Linked DNA regions of Homo sapiens: region 1 is linked to region 2. The links are contacts of gene promoters, found by promoter capture Hi-C in human tissues and cell types (Jung and others, 2019). All regions are on one chromosome and are shown on one strand. Each heading gives the region's core, a stretch centred on a gene start or on the middle of the fragment in contact. The rest is flanking DNA. Distances are from core to core; before and after follow the strand shown.

What was found. Contacts are between HindIII fragments. The study calls those that stand out against the background at their distance.
Region 1: a fragment that was not itself captured here is called in contact with the fragment with the promoter of PODXL in region 2 in 1 of the 25 tissues and cell types used here (dorsolateral prefrontal cortex).

What each region holds. Positions count from the first base shown.
Region 1 is chr7:131,044,574-131,051,928 of GRCh38, reverse strand. All of the region lies in intron 3 of LINC-PINT (long intergenic non-protein coding RNA, p53 induced transcript), which reads left to right. Among named protein-coding and RNA genes, the nearest start is that of LINC-PINT, 62 kb to the left of the region's middle. RefSeq lists a cis regulatory region at 7,223 and an enhancer at 7,151-7,295. The HindIII fragment of the contact is 6,752 bases long and covers 1,732-7,355 here.
Region 2 is chr7:131,553,784-131,561,168 of GRCh38, reverse strand. It overlaps PODXL (podocalyxin like), which reads left to right and starts at 4,541. Exons shown (of 9, transcript NM_001018111.3): 1 at 4,541-4,909. The coding sequence starts at 4,810. RefSeq lists an enhancer at 3,606-4,153 and silencers at 4,121-4,240, 4,271-4,330, 4,411-4,920. The HindIII fragment of the contact is 6,040 bases long and covers 2,733-7,385 here.

The DNA of each region.
Region 1 (7,355 bases), core at 3,858-6,357, 510 kb after region 2:
ACTGCACTCCAGTCTGGGCGACAGAGAGGCTCTGTCTCAAAAAAAAAAAAAAAAAAAAAAAAAATTTAAAAGCATTCTCCTTAGTGCTTTATTTCATTTTTACATTATAAAATGTAAAAAATATTGGTAAAACAACTGTTAATACATTTTTAAAATGCAACTGTATGTAAAAATTATCTTTTAATGCAGGATGCATTTTGGTTAATTTGAAATAAATACTGGTTTAGTGGAAATAAAATTTTAATAGTTCTTTCTATTTGAAAATAATGATTTTTCCAATACTAATATAGATAAGATCACAGAATCTGTCTGGATTTAACTTTCTCAAACAGACTAGGGAAGAATGGCTTTCATTCTTTCTAATCAAAACACCTGAATGAAGTTTAAAGTGTTTTAAGTGTTGAGTCAGTTACATTGAAAACAAATGGTTTCTCAGAACAAGAGCTATTATTCCTCGTACTATATCCTTTGAAACTGTTTTGACAAAACTAGTAAACCATGAAGTTGTACCAGGGCCTTGTTTGGGAATCTTAAACTAAAAACAGTGAATAAATCTACAAGATATTCGCCACTGCAGTGGGATTATTTAATTTTGGTCCAAATCTGTGTTGTCCAATATGGTAGCAACTGGCCACATGCCACATGTAGCTATTAGATGTTTGAAATATGAGTAGTACTAACGGAAATGTGCTCTGCAGAAAATACCATAATTCAAAAAAAAATTTAAAAAGACTAAAATACTAGGTTTTATATGACTCACATTTTGAAGTGATAATATTTTGGATATATTGAATTAAAACATGTTATTAAAATTAATATCACTTGTTTTTGTTTACTTTTTTATGTGACTGCTGGAAAATTTAAAATTAGTTGTAGCTTGCATTATACTTCTTTTGGATGGAACTGATCTATATCATCACATACAATCAACATTCTTAGTTATCCAGTACCTAGCATTCTGTAGTTCTTGAACTTTCTGGTCCTCCTATGGATCAATTCATATACATTTGTATTGTTTTAAGAATTTGATTCTTTGATTCATCAAATATTTATTGACTGCCTACCATGTGTCAGACAGTATTGTAGGTATTGGTGATACAGTAGTGAACAAAACGAACTAAACTCTCTGCCTTCATGGAGGTAACATTCTAGCAGGAAGATACAGACTAAGAACAAATAAAAAAGTACAATATGTAGTATATTAGAAAGCAATGAGTGCTTTGGAGAAATGTAAGGCAGGCAAGAGTAAGGGCTGAAGAGTTGACTGGTAAAGAGAATGTTTAGGGAAGGCCTCAGTGAGAAGTTGTGAAGAAGTTGATGGAAAGAGCCTGTGGGTGTTTGGGGGAAGAGTGTTGTAGGCAGAGAGGATAGCAAATGCAAAGACCTTGAGGCAGAAGCATGCCTGGCTTGTTTGAAAATAGGAGGAGGCTAGTGAATGGAGTGGAGTGAGTGAAGGGGCTGTAATCCCAGCACTTTGGGAGGCCAAGGCCAGGTGGAGCACGAGGTCAGGAGATCAAGACCATCCTGGCGAACATGGTGAAATCCCGTATCTACTCTAAAATACAAAAAATTAGCCAGGTGTGGTGGTGGGTGCCTGTAGTCCCAGCTACTCAGGAGGCTGAGGCAGGGGAATCGCTTGAACCTGGGAGGCAGAGGTTGCTGTGAGCTGAGATCGTGCCACTGTGCTCTAGCCTGGCGACAGGGCAAGACTCTGTCTCCAAAAAAAAAAAAAAAAGAGGAGATGAGAGGATATGGATGGTCATGTCATGTTGTCAGAGGCATAAAAACCAGAGCAATCCCATCTTGAGTAGGGGCTGGGTAAAATAAGGCTGAGACCTACTAGGCTGCATTCCCAAAGAGTTAGGCATTCTAAGTCACCGGATGAGATAGGAGGTCAGCACAAGATACGAGTCCTAAAGACCTTGCTAATAAAAAAGTTTGTAGTAAAGAAGCCGGCCAAAACCCACCAAAACTAAGATGGCATTGAGAGTGACCTCCGATTGTCCTCATTGCTACACTCCCACCAGCACCATGACAGTTTACAAATGCCATGACAACGTCAGGTTAGTACCCCATATAGTCTAAAAAGGGGAGGCATAAATAATCCACCCCTTGTTTAGCATATAATCAAGAAATAACCATAAAAATGGGCAACTATAGAGTAGCCATTCTTTTATTCTTTTACTTTCTGAATGAACTTACTTTCACTTTATCGACTTGCCTCAGATTCTTTCTTGCATGAGATACAAGAGTCCTCCCTTGGGGTCTGGATCAGGACCCCTTTCCCATAACAGTGTGAGCAGTGGTTATTGTATGGGTTTTGGCTTCCAGTGAGATGAAAAAGAATTGGTGGATTTTAAGGAGAGAAGCAACATGATCTTTCTAATGAAGGTAATGTGATTTGAATACTCTGGGCTAGGGGTGGGGGTGTTTGCAAGGGTAGAAGCGGAGAGACCCAGTGAGGCTACTGCAGTGACCCAGCTGCAAGATGGTGCCTGAGACCATAAGCAAGGGATGTGAGGAGAAATGACGGAATTCTAGTTATATGTTGTGAAATTAGATATGAGATGAGAGACAGAAAGGAGTGTCAGGGAAGACTCCACAGTTTGCAGCCTGAACAACTGAGAGTGGAGGTGCCTTTGCTGAGATAGGGGGGTGGATTGTGGAGGGACCGATTGGAGGCAGCACTAGGAGCTCAGTTTTAAACACATTACATTTGAGATTCCTCTTTAGATATCTAAGCAGAAAGGTCATGTAGGCAGAGTCTGGACTTCAGTGGGAGGTCAGGATTAAAAAGGCAAATTTGAAGTCATTAGCATTGAACTGTTGTTCAAAGTCATAAGAAGGATTGAGGCCACCAAGGGAGTGAGAAGAGTGGTCTGGGGCCTCTCCTGGTCCCATGGAGTCAGCAGGGCAGATTGAGGAACAGACAGGAAGGTGTAAATCGTGATACTCTAGACACCAAGGGAAGCAGTAGTAACCCACCTTGTCAGATGCTGCTGATGGGTCAGGTAAGATGCCAGCTGAAAATTGATCAGAAGATTTAGCAGTGAGGAGGATGTTAGTGATCTTGGCGAGTGGTTTCAGTGAAATGGTAGAGACAAAAGCCAGAGTGGAGCAGATTCCAGGGAGAATTGGAGGAACTGGATTGAAGAGTGAGTACAGACAGACTCTCTTTTGAGTAACTTGTGAAGTCCAGAAGAGTCAAGGAAAGTTTTGGTTTTGGTTTTTTAAGATGAGAGAAATTACATGTTTCTCCCAATGCATGTGTTAGAGAGATTTCAAGTTATTTTTCTGAAATGGCCTACTAGATTTATGACATTTAAGACCACCACCTGTGTGTGTTAGGGGTGGAGGTGTAGTGCTTCCCTCCTAAGATGATTTCATAGAATTGTGTTGTGGAAGAGGCAGAGGGGTGGGAGGGATCGGGGGAGAGACAGAGAAAGAGAGAGAATGTAGAGATTGGCATTGTATGTTAAAGGTGGCTTTTGCAATTGTTATGAAATTTGGCTGCTTCTTGCTCAGTGTCTGCATTCACATTCCGGGAATTAAAAATGTTAAGGTAACAAATGTTAAGACTAGTTCTCGTCAACTGAAAATGTTGAAAAAGCTGATGTTTGGGGTGTAATTTCTTTTCCTTACTTTTGAGGAAGTTATTGAAACATTTGAAGAAATTGAGGCAGAGACACAATACCCAAGGTCACACAAAATGAAATATTGCCAGAATAAGTGGATTTTAGATCTGATTTCCTAGCTATGTGGAACACTTAATCCCTCTGTGTTCAGTTCCAGCAGGTATAAAATGAGGGTAATATTTGCTTTACCTGCCACAGGAGGTTTTTATGAGGATCAGATGAACTAGTAGGTGCAGGGGCTTAGTCAACTATAAAGCATTGTATTATATAAATATGAAGTAATGTTAAAACTAAATTATACTTGAGGATTTTGTGGTAGCATGTGAAATAACTGGAAAAAGTATAATGTAACAAAATCTGGGCTGAGAATATTTGTAATACATACTCATACTAATAGAACTGCAAGAATTTGCTTTTTGCCTGTGTCAGACTTTGTTAATGACACCACAGAATCGATTGTGTTTTGAGTTTTGTGGCCAAGTCACAGCTGAGGTCCAAGCAATCAACCAGTTTATCTTCTAGGAGTCTCAAAGTTACTGAACTGGCTATTTTGGTACTTTAATATAATGTTAGCTTGCTGGTACTATGTGGAAGAGCCACTCTCTTAATATAAAATATTCACGTTCTGATGATAAATTTTCTATCAAACTTTGAGAGCATTTCTATATTTGATACTTGGAGTTGAATTATAGTCATACTTCATTTTTGTATTATCGTCATACTTTATGCTGTGGAAAACTGAGGAATTAAAAATGAGTAGCCAAGATCATTTCCCTTAATGGTGATGTGAAGAGGATAGGTGATTCTCTTTCTGAATAAAACAAGCGTAAAACTGGATGAGATTGTCCAAAATGGTCGTTTCTGGGCACTGGAAACAAAAGGCAGATAATAGATTGAGAAGCGTTATTGATACACTGAATCTTTGGGTATGAAGGATAGGGGTTGTGGCCTTCTCGCATGGGGTTTCTTCTCTCCTTGCCCACTATCTCAGTTGTCGAACTGCTGTTTTATCAGACATGATAGACTCAATTTGAAGTGTGGGTAAAGGTTGGGGTTAAGAAATCACAGCTTTGCTAGCTAAAAGTGGCATAATCAGTTAATAATGAAAAACTCACAGCTTTGCTACTTTGAGTTTGAAGTTTGCTAGTTTGAGGCCACCATCCAGAAATTTAACAAGGAGATCCTAGAAATGAGAGACCTATAGAGGGCTAACATGGCTCCCCAACCATCTGTAGCAGACAGCTAAACTTTGCATGCCCAGGGGATACTCAGTAGAGCCCAGCAAAAAGTGAAAGCCAGAAGAGACTTGAGATCTGGGTACAACTTTGAATGCTACCTTCCATGCAGACTGTTCCATCTGCAGATGTTGGAAGCCTTACTGGTGCAAGGTGGCTGGGCTTAATCTCTGCCCAAATCCACTGGCTGACCACTAAACTAAGCAGCCACTCACTCATTAGGGAAATGCAAATTAAAGCCATAACAACAACCACCAGAATGGCTAAAATTAAAAAGACTGACAATCCAAGTGTTGACAAGGATATGCGGAAACCAGAATCCTCTCAAATTGCTGGTGGGAATATAAAACAGTATGGCCATGATGGAAAACAGTTTGGCAGTTTCTTAAAAAGTTCAATATACACTTAATGTGTAACTCAGCAATTCTATTTCCAAGGTATGCTGTCAGGAAAAATGACAGCATGTGTCCAGGCAAAGTTGGTATATGATGTTCATAGTGTCACCCAGCAAGCAATCAATGGGCCTGCTTCCCAAGGCACATGGAGGCCAATACCATGGCGCTGGCTTTTGAGGAAAAATAAGCTTTATCATGACTGGACTGGCAAGGAGCCAGGAAGAAGCACCCAAATCTGCCTCCTGGAGCTGGTAGTTGGGTAGAGTTTTATAAGCATAGGGTAATAGGGTGTGATCCAATTGGATCTTGTGATGAAGTGATGCTGGGGGGTGTTTTCTGACTGGCTCCTGACATGGGGCTATGCCAGAGCTCAATCTGGTTGGATTCTGGATCCTGTTATGCCATATCCACTTTTTTTTTTTTTTTTTTTTTTTTGAGATAGAGTCTCACTCTTGTCACCCAGGCTGGAGTGCAGTGGTGCAATCTCAGCTCACTGCAACCTCCGCCTCCTGGGTTCAAGTGATTCTCCTGCCTCAGCCTCCCAAGTAGCTGGGATTACAGGCGCCTACCACCATGCCCAGTATTTGTATTTTTAGTAAAGATGGGGTTTTGCCATGTTGGCCAGGCTGGTCTCAAACTCCTGACCTCAGGTGATCTGCCCGCCTCGGCCTCCCAGAGTTCTGGGATTACAGGCATGAGCCACCACACCCGGCTTCCACTTCTTAGTTCAGTCCCCTCTCCTTGGTTGGAACATTTAGGTTGCCCCTATAGTTGCATGCTTGGTTCATCTGGACATGCTCAGCTTACATGATGTTCAACCTGGGGGCCCATGGCAACTGAAAAACAACTCACAACTTTGTTACAGAAGAGATGAACCAGATTGGTCTGACGTGGTTAAAACAGCAGCTTTAGCTGTGATTGAAAACTGGAACTAATTTATGTGTCTGTCAGCAGATGAATGGATAAGCAAATTGTGGTATATCTATAGAATGGAATAATACTCAGTAATGAAAAGGAATGGACTATTGATACATACAGTGACATGTATGCATTGCAAAATAATAACATGCTGTGTGAAAGAAGCCAGACACCTTTTCCTACAAAACAGAATACTGATTCCATTTAGGTGAAATTCTAGAAAATGCAAGCTAATCTGTAGTGACAGTAGATCAGTGCCTGCAGATCAGAGGATGGCTTGGGAGAGGAGGGAGAAAGGGATTCCAAAGGAAAGAGCACAATGAAACGTTTGGGGGTGATGTATATATTCATTATTTGATTATGTCTAATGATTTCATGGGTGTATACATATGTCAAAACTCATTGTATATTTAAATATGTGCAATTTATTGTATATCAAGAGTAACTCAGTAAAGTTATAAAAACTAAAACTATGCCCATTCAAAAAGCAAACAGATGTTCATAGTACCATTATTCACAGTAGACAAAAACTGGAAACAATCCAAATCCATCAACCGGTGAATAGATAAACAAAATTTGGTATGTCCATATCAGCCATGAAAAGGAATAAAATTCTGATTCATGCCACGGGTACATACTACAATATGGTTGAACCTCAGAAACATTATGCCAAGTGAAAGGGCTCTGTATTGTATGATACCATGATATGAAACTTTTAGAACAGGCAAAACCTTAGATCAGATCAGTACTTTGCCTGGGTGTAGGGTGGCAGCATGGAGATTGGTTTTAAACAGGCACAGCGGAACAGTTTGGGTGATGGAAATGTTCCTGGTGATAGTTGTGTATAAATTGTATGAAAACGTGTGCAATTGTGTACTTAAAATGGATAATTTTCAAGACATGCAAATTATACCTCAAGAAAGCCACTAAACGTGGGTGGCCACTCAAAATTTCAAATTCTCTTTAAGATGACCATTCAGGTCAGGCATGGTGGCTCACTCCTGTAATCCCAGCACTTTGGGAGGCCAAGGCAGGCAGAGCACGAGGTCAGGAGATCGAGACCATCTTGGCTAACACGGTGAAACCCCATCTCTACTAAAAGTACAAAACGTTAGATGGGCGTGGTGGCGGGCACGGTGGTGGGCGCCTGTAGAGGCAGGAGAGAATGGCGT
Region 2 (7,385 bases), core at 3,292-5,791:
CCAATCCTCATCTCCCATCATCCTGACAAATCCTATGCTCTGCTGAGGGCGAAATACCTGTAGATCTTGTTCCATCTGCCCAAAAAGCCTTCCCTTTCACTCTTCCCTTGGTGAAGTCCTTCAACTCCTCCAAAACCCAGTTCCCTCCTCTGGAGCCTTCCTTGACCTCCCCGGGTGGGGCTGAGCCATCCTGCTCTCCGCTTCCCACATGCCCACCCGTGCCATGTGTTACAGCCCCTACTACATGTTAGTCATGTTTGTGTACAGGGTTGCATTCTCAGCACAGTGCACCGAACCTAGCACACTCTGCCTATTAGGGTAGATATTATTGAATAATAATACATAAAGGCATGACTTTGGGGTGAGCTGCCCAACTTGAGTCCCAGCTGATATTCATAGAACCGCACCACTTGGCAGTCAGGGGTAACCCAACCTTGGAGAGAAAATCCAACCACTTCTTCATCTATGCAGCATTTGAATGTCATGCACCTGTTTGGGGTCAGACACCACCATACTGGGCACTGGATTCCAAGATGAATTAAACACTGCTTCGACCCACAAGGAACTCAGAGGTCAGTGATTAGAAAGCCCAGGTAAGAGCATCCCTGGCTCCTTATGTGTAGGAGCTGTGGCTCCAGGATGGATACATGTGTGCACTCATCTTTTCTTGGGGGATGTGGTAGCGGACGCTTTGTCTCACCCCTAGATGTTGTGACTGGGGATCAGTATTACTTAGAATGAGGGTCAAGAGGACTTACTGAGTCTGCACATAAGGATGCACTTAGGTAAACAACATCACCAAATTGCACCTGGGGCAGAGAATTATGGCCCCTAACATTGACAGCCAGGGGCCATGGAAAAATGTGTAACCTTGTGCCATGGGTTCCTGCGTAATATCTTCCAGGTGACATTCATATTTGCATTCAAGATCTGTATCTATAGATCTGTATCTGTATCTATATGTATGATGTTGTAACTGAGGGAAAGGCCCAAACTGGGCTTGCTCTGTTGATAACAAAATGTCACGTTGCTCCAGCATAAGCAATAGAAAATAGTTGGAACTCTAACAACAACCCCAAAACAATGAATTCTCCCTTGGAACTAAAAAGACTAAGAGACTTGATGGGAATCCGAATGCCAGAACTCTCTCAGAAGCCAGACGTACAATGGCTTGGAAGATGTGGGGCTAAAAGTCCGCCTCAACATACCTTTCTGTAAATGGTCAAATTTAAAGCCCTCCAATCAGATTCTGCCAAGCCAACATTCCTAAATCTTTTCATTGCCTTCTGATCCCATAAATTTACCCCAGGCCTCAAACTGGGGAGACATTTTTTCTTTTTTTTTTTTTTGAGATGGAGTCTTGCTCTGTTGCCCAGGCTGCAGTGCAGTGGTGCAATCTCAGCTCACTGCAGCCTACACCTCCCAGGTTCAAGCAATTCTCCTGCCTCAGCCTCCTGAGTAGCTAGGATTACAGACGCATGCCACCAAGCCTGGCTAATTTTTGTATTTTTAGTAGAGATGGGGTTTCACCATGTTGGCCAGGCTGGTCTCAAACTCCTGACTTCAGGTGATCTGCCCACCTCAGCCTCCCAAAGTTGTGGGATTACAGGCATGAGTCACCGTGCCTGGCTGGGGAGACAGATTTGAATTCACTCCTGTCTCTTTGCTGACCAGTTTTGCAAATAAAGCCGCTGCTTTTTCCAAAGCTAGTGCTTCATAGTATTGGCTTCTGTGCCCATGGGGCAGCAAAACCATTTGCTTGATAAAAATGCGGTGGCTCTCGCCAGTAATCCCAGCACTTTGGGAGGCCGAGGCGGGCAGATCACCTGAGGTCGGGAGTTCGAGACCAGCCTGACCAACATGGAGAAACCCCGTCTCTACTAAAAATACAAAATTAGCCGGGTGTGGTGGCAGATGCCTGTAATCCTAGCTACTTAGGAGGCTGAGGCAGGAGAATTGCTTGAACCTGGGAGGCGGAGGCAGCCTGGGCAACAGGAGCAAGACTCTGTCTCAAAAAAAAAAAAAAAAAAAAAAAAGTGATGTGCTGTTCTTGGTGGTCTGAGTAAGTAAAGGATGAATAAGAAAGACGCCATGTTAAAGAAGCTGAATGTCTGCTAGGAGAGCTAACGCATGTATACAAATAACCAAAATGCAACAAATCCCAGAAGGAATGATCCTGCAGAAACTTCCTGATGAAAAGCTTCAAAAACAGCACCCATAAAGTGCTTTGGGTTTCAAATATAAGCTCAGGTGTTCTGGGCTGGCGAGCTTGCTAGTTAGAGCACAATGCTAAATGGGGCCAAAGGCACAGGCCAGTTACCTGGGGGTAGCTCATCTCAGTGGCCACCAGTGACCTCAAAACCCAGCCAGCCTCATTCCAGAAAGCCACGTTGTGCATAAGTTGAGGGGGGCTGTTGGATACTGGGGAGAGTCCAGCACAATTGTAACTTTTCTATGTCTTCTCTAAGCCCAGATGTCTGCTCTCATTTTAATTTTGCATGATCTTGTAATGGCACCAATCCCAAATCATGTGAATTTAAAATGCCCTAAGCTTCAAAATATACGCTCTCTCTTTATAAAGTTAACATGATTGCTTCTGAGTTTTTAGATAAATTGAATGATTGAGTGCAAAAACACTGTTTAAATCAGAGTGCGATACACATTTTTTAAAATCCCAGTGTAAAAAAAAATATATATATATATTGCTTGGTTTCAGAAGAGAAACAAGCCTTTTGTTGACATGATATCAGGGGAACAGTACTAAAAAAACATCAAAGATAGTCACACACACAAATATCCCAGAGTATTCATAGGGAACACCCTCTGTCTTTCCCATATGCGGTGTGGAAAACGGGGCCAGAACGATCCTGCAGAAACTTCCTGATGAAAACAACCCCGTCAGCCCTTCCCAAGCTTGAGGCCGGCTGCCACGGAACCCCAGCCAGGGCTCCAGCGCTTCCTTCGCGGCTCCAGGGACGCAGTGCCCTGCAGGCATCGCCTGCTTGCAGCCGACTTGAGGGGCTCACGGAGTCCCCTGTGCCCGGGACGCGGCTAGATCCTGGAGAAAACCCCTCCACCCAGCCCCATCTGGCAGATAGACTCCAGATTAGCAACCCCGGAGTCACGTGAGCCAAATTTACGCCGTACCCGGGTTCCAAGGTTAATCACCCCTCGCCCCCTCCGCTTCCCGGCTCCGCCGATGTGCCTCCTCTTCAGGCGGGCCTGGGGTCTGCGTCTCCCAGGCAGCTTTGGGGGTGGAAAAAAGGAGGGGAGCGGGGGAGGGGAAAGGAACTTCTTTGTTCTTTCACCGGATAAACTCAGTTTACGGAATTCTCCAACACCCACTCCCACCCCCAGTGTGCAAATATCTCTGATCCTCACTTGGAGGGCGAACTACTTCATTCATTGAGACTTTTGTGTTCCTGGCCCTAGGCTAAGTATTATCTTGTAAGATCACATTTAAGTTTCCCAACAACCCCCTGAGGTAGGTGTTATTATCCCTATTTTACAGATAAAAAGAAATGAGGTACTGAGAATAGCTTGCCTAGGGTTTTACAATTAATAGATTGGCACAGTTAGGTTTTGAGCCCCAGCCTGTTTTGACCCAAAAGCCCTAATCTTTATAGCTGTTCTTTATATAGCAGGAATAAGAGTAATAACCACTCCTTGCAGAGCAATTACTATATTCCAGGCACGGTGCACGGTATTTCTCCAAACTTCTCTCAGAGGCAGGTTTGCCACTTACCCGTTATGTGGCCTCAGGAAGTTTCTTAACCTCTTTTTGACTCAATTGCCCTGTCTGCAAAATGAGGCTAAAAATATGGTTGTCATGAAGAGTAAAAGAATTAATATATGTAAAGCCTGGCACACATTCATCCCTGAAATTGTTGTTGCTGTTGTTTTTTAACCATCATCTCCATTTCACAGGTAAGGAACCTACCCTTGGAGAGGTGAAGGAGTGAATTAGTCCAGCTTGCCCGCTGCACACCTAGCTGCAGAGAGACCCCGCTCAGAAGCCGTGCGGGATGGGGGCCCCACAGGCAGGTGAATTGCACTTGGCAGGTGGGAGATGAGCTTCTCCGGGGTCGCTGCAGAACGCGCAGCAGCCCGGGAGGCCGTGAATGGTTATCAGTTACCACGCAAGGCTGGGGGTCCGCCCGCTCCGGATTTGCTCGTAGTGCGAGGGCCCCGGCGGTGTGCTGGGGGATCCCGCCGGGCCCACTTAGAAGCACTCGGGGGGACACACCTGTTCGGGACACCTGTGGACGGGGCCCGGCTGCACCGCAGGAGCCCCCCGCCCTGGCCCCCGCGCACACACAGCCCCCCAAGGCGCGGAGGCCGCCGGCCCTCCCGCCCGTCGCGCTCCAGGGCGGAGTTTCCTCCTCTGCTCATTGTTCACGGCCCAGCGCCCGCCCAGCCCCGGCCCCGGCCCCGCCCGGCCCGGCCGCCGCCGCTGGCGGGCTCCTGGGGGAGGGGGAGGGGCGGGGGCGGGGGCGGGGGCCGGCGCTGACGGGACGGGCCAGGAGTAGCCGCAGCCGCCAGTGGGGCCGCAGCCGCGCAGACGCCGCCCAGGACGCAGCCGCCGCCGCCGCCGCTCCTCTGCCACTGGCTCTGCGCCCCAGCCCGGCTCTGCTGCAGCGGCAGGGAGGAAGAGCCGCCGCAGCGCGACTCGGGAGCCCCGGGCCACAGCCTGGCCTCCGGAGCCACCCACAGGCCTCCCCGGGCGGCGCCCACGCTCCTACCGCCCGGACGCGCGGATCCTCCGCCGGCACCGCAGCCACCTGCTCCCGGCCCAGAGGCGACGACACGATGCGCTGCGCGCTGGCGCTCTCGGCGCTGCTGCTACTGTTGTCAACGCCGCCGCTGCTGCCGTCGTCGCCGTCGCCGTCGCCGTCGCCCTCCCAGAATGGTGAGTGGCCGGCCTGGGTTCCGCCGGGACTCCCACCGTGCCCATGTGCCCCCTGCCCGGCCGAGCTGCAGGGAAGCCCGGCGCGCCGCGTGGTCCGACCCCGAGCAGCCCTATCACCGCCGGGGTCACACACGGAGCCCTGACCTTGCACCATCCACGCCCCCTCCAAACTCCGCAGCGCGGCAGGTGCAGGGCCTGGGCGTAGATTCGTCTCCACTCTCCACTCGGGAGGAGTGGGCGGTGGATTCTGCCCGGGCAAACAGGGGCGCGCCGGTGCTAAGTGGGTTTGCATGGGAAAGAAAAGGGAGACCGCACCGCGAGGCTCCACGCTTCTGCGGGACTCTCGGGATCTGATTACACCTTTCCTTCGTGTTGGAGGGAATGAGGGGCTGTAGTGTGTATTCGTTAATTCCAGGCAAAGAGGCAGGCGAGAGGCTCCCGAGGAAGTCCCTGAAGCAGGTGACAAGCCTCCAGCCACGGCCCACGCGGGCGATGTACTTACCCGTTTGCAGAGGTTTTTTCTAAGTAATGTGTGCAGGCTCAACTCCTTGAGCCCGTGCTGGGGCAGGTACAGAGTCGTAAGTGGACCTTCCACAGTCCCAGAGTCACCTGGCTGAGTGGGGGTCCTACCTCCGTGTCCCTAAAACAATCGCTTCTTAGTGCGTGGCTACGATGGTGAGACCCCCCTCGAATCCTCTTGTTCAAACGGGAACTTGTTCAAACGGGAACTTCTCTCTCGTAGAATAGGATTGGGCTGCATTTTAGACACACCTTAGAAAATGTACCTGTCTCTCATGAAACACCTGCACCTCAGAAACATCCCCTCCCTGTTTCTTTTCAAGGTGAAATGTTACTCTTTCCCTTTTGGGGGACAGGCGATGGCTGCAAACTCAACCAGAACAGGTGTTCTTAAGCCCCTAGGGAACAGCCAGAGTCAGCTCAGCCCCACGGGAGAGGTGCATTTCTCATTCTCTTTTGCCCACCTGAGCACATGTCTGCAGGAAGAGCTGAGGTGGTGTGATCACCCTAGGGCCAGGAGGACTGCGGGGACAGCACAGACAGGGTAGGGATTCTGCTGTGAGCAGGTGCCGGCAGTTTGGGACTGGACTCTAAGGGGCCAGGGGAGATGGAAGGGCAGTACAGTCTCTCCTCTGCACCGCAGGAAACCTTTGGTAGTGGGCAGGCGCTGGCACTCAGGGAGCAGGCAGGCGTGGGCATCCTCCTGTGGCCGGCGGGAGACTCCACCAGCCTGACTAGAAAGGGAAGGTCCCGGCGGGGGGAAGAATGTGTGTCCCTGGAAGAGGGGCTGCAGTGTGAGGAACAGTCAGAACAGCTTTCAGAGTGGCAATCACTGAAGAGCCACACGACATGCAGGGTTGAGATGACACGAGAGTATGGTGGCTCCTTAGCCCTACTCTGGGGACAGCTGGACTTCAGGGTGGGCCTTCATACGAACCTTTTGTTGGGAAGCCTCTTAGAACCACCCAGAAGGGCGTTGGGCTGTGTCAGGAAAGAGGGGTTAGTCCCTAGTGCTTCTGAGCTTAAGGAAGCTGAGCCACCCTTCCTTTGAGGAGTGGGAGGCACTGTGGGACAAGACCCTCCCTGTCTGCCCTAAAAGGAAATGTTCATAAGTCACCAGTGGGCAAAGCTCTGACTCCAGCTCACTGCTGGCTTCAAGGATGGCACTGTTTTTCCTGGCACCTGGGCACTGCCAGAAACCATGTCTCTTCCATGAAGCACCACTTCTGGCCTAACACAGGGTTTGGCACATGGCAGAAGTTTGGTATGTGGCAAACAAAAATGACCATAACCCAGTGCCTGCTCTAACCAGCAAGTAACTTGGCCTATCTGAGCACTGTATGCATTATAGTATGCAGCACTGTTGGGAAGCACTTAGAAAAGTGCAAAGTGCTAAGTGGGGGATGGGGAGAGGATGATGATCATGATGGTGATGATGATTTGCATGTATTGAGGCCAGAAAAGGCTTGTGGGGGGCATGTTGCGGCAAGATTGGTCTGTTCAGTAGCTATGGTGCATTCTACACCACCCTCTAGGGACTCAGTAAGGCCAGCTCCATCCCTGTCCTTCTGAAGGTGTGGTCGCCTGGGCTGCTGTCATCGGGAATAGCATAAACACTGCCCCCCATCTGCTGGAATCCTGTGATTTGATTCAAAGCAAGAAAGATTTATAGCTCGAGTCTCTGCAACAAAGGAATTATCCCCAGACAGGTCCATCCCTGCCCCTCTCCCCCAGCTTACCTTCCAATATATGGGCAGATTATGCAGCCTACAGCAAAGAAAGCATTCACCTTAAGGGTTGGACAATTCATCAGACCCCCTTTCAGTGCTTTTTGGTTTGATAACCATCTGGCAGAACCACAATGGTAAGTCACATCTCCGTGCCTCCGTTTCGTTATTTGTGAGATAGAATAAAAGAACCAAAGGGACCTCTAGTTCCACCATGATAAGATATCTGG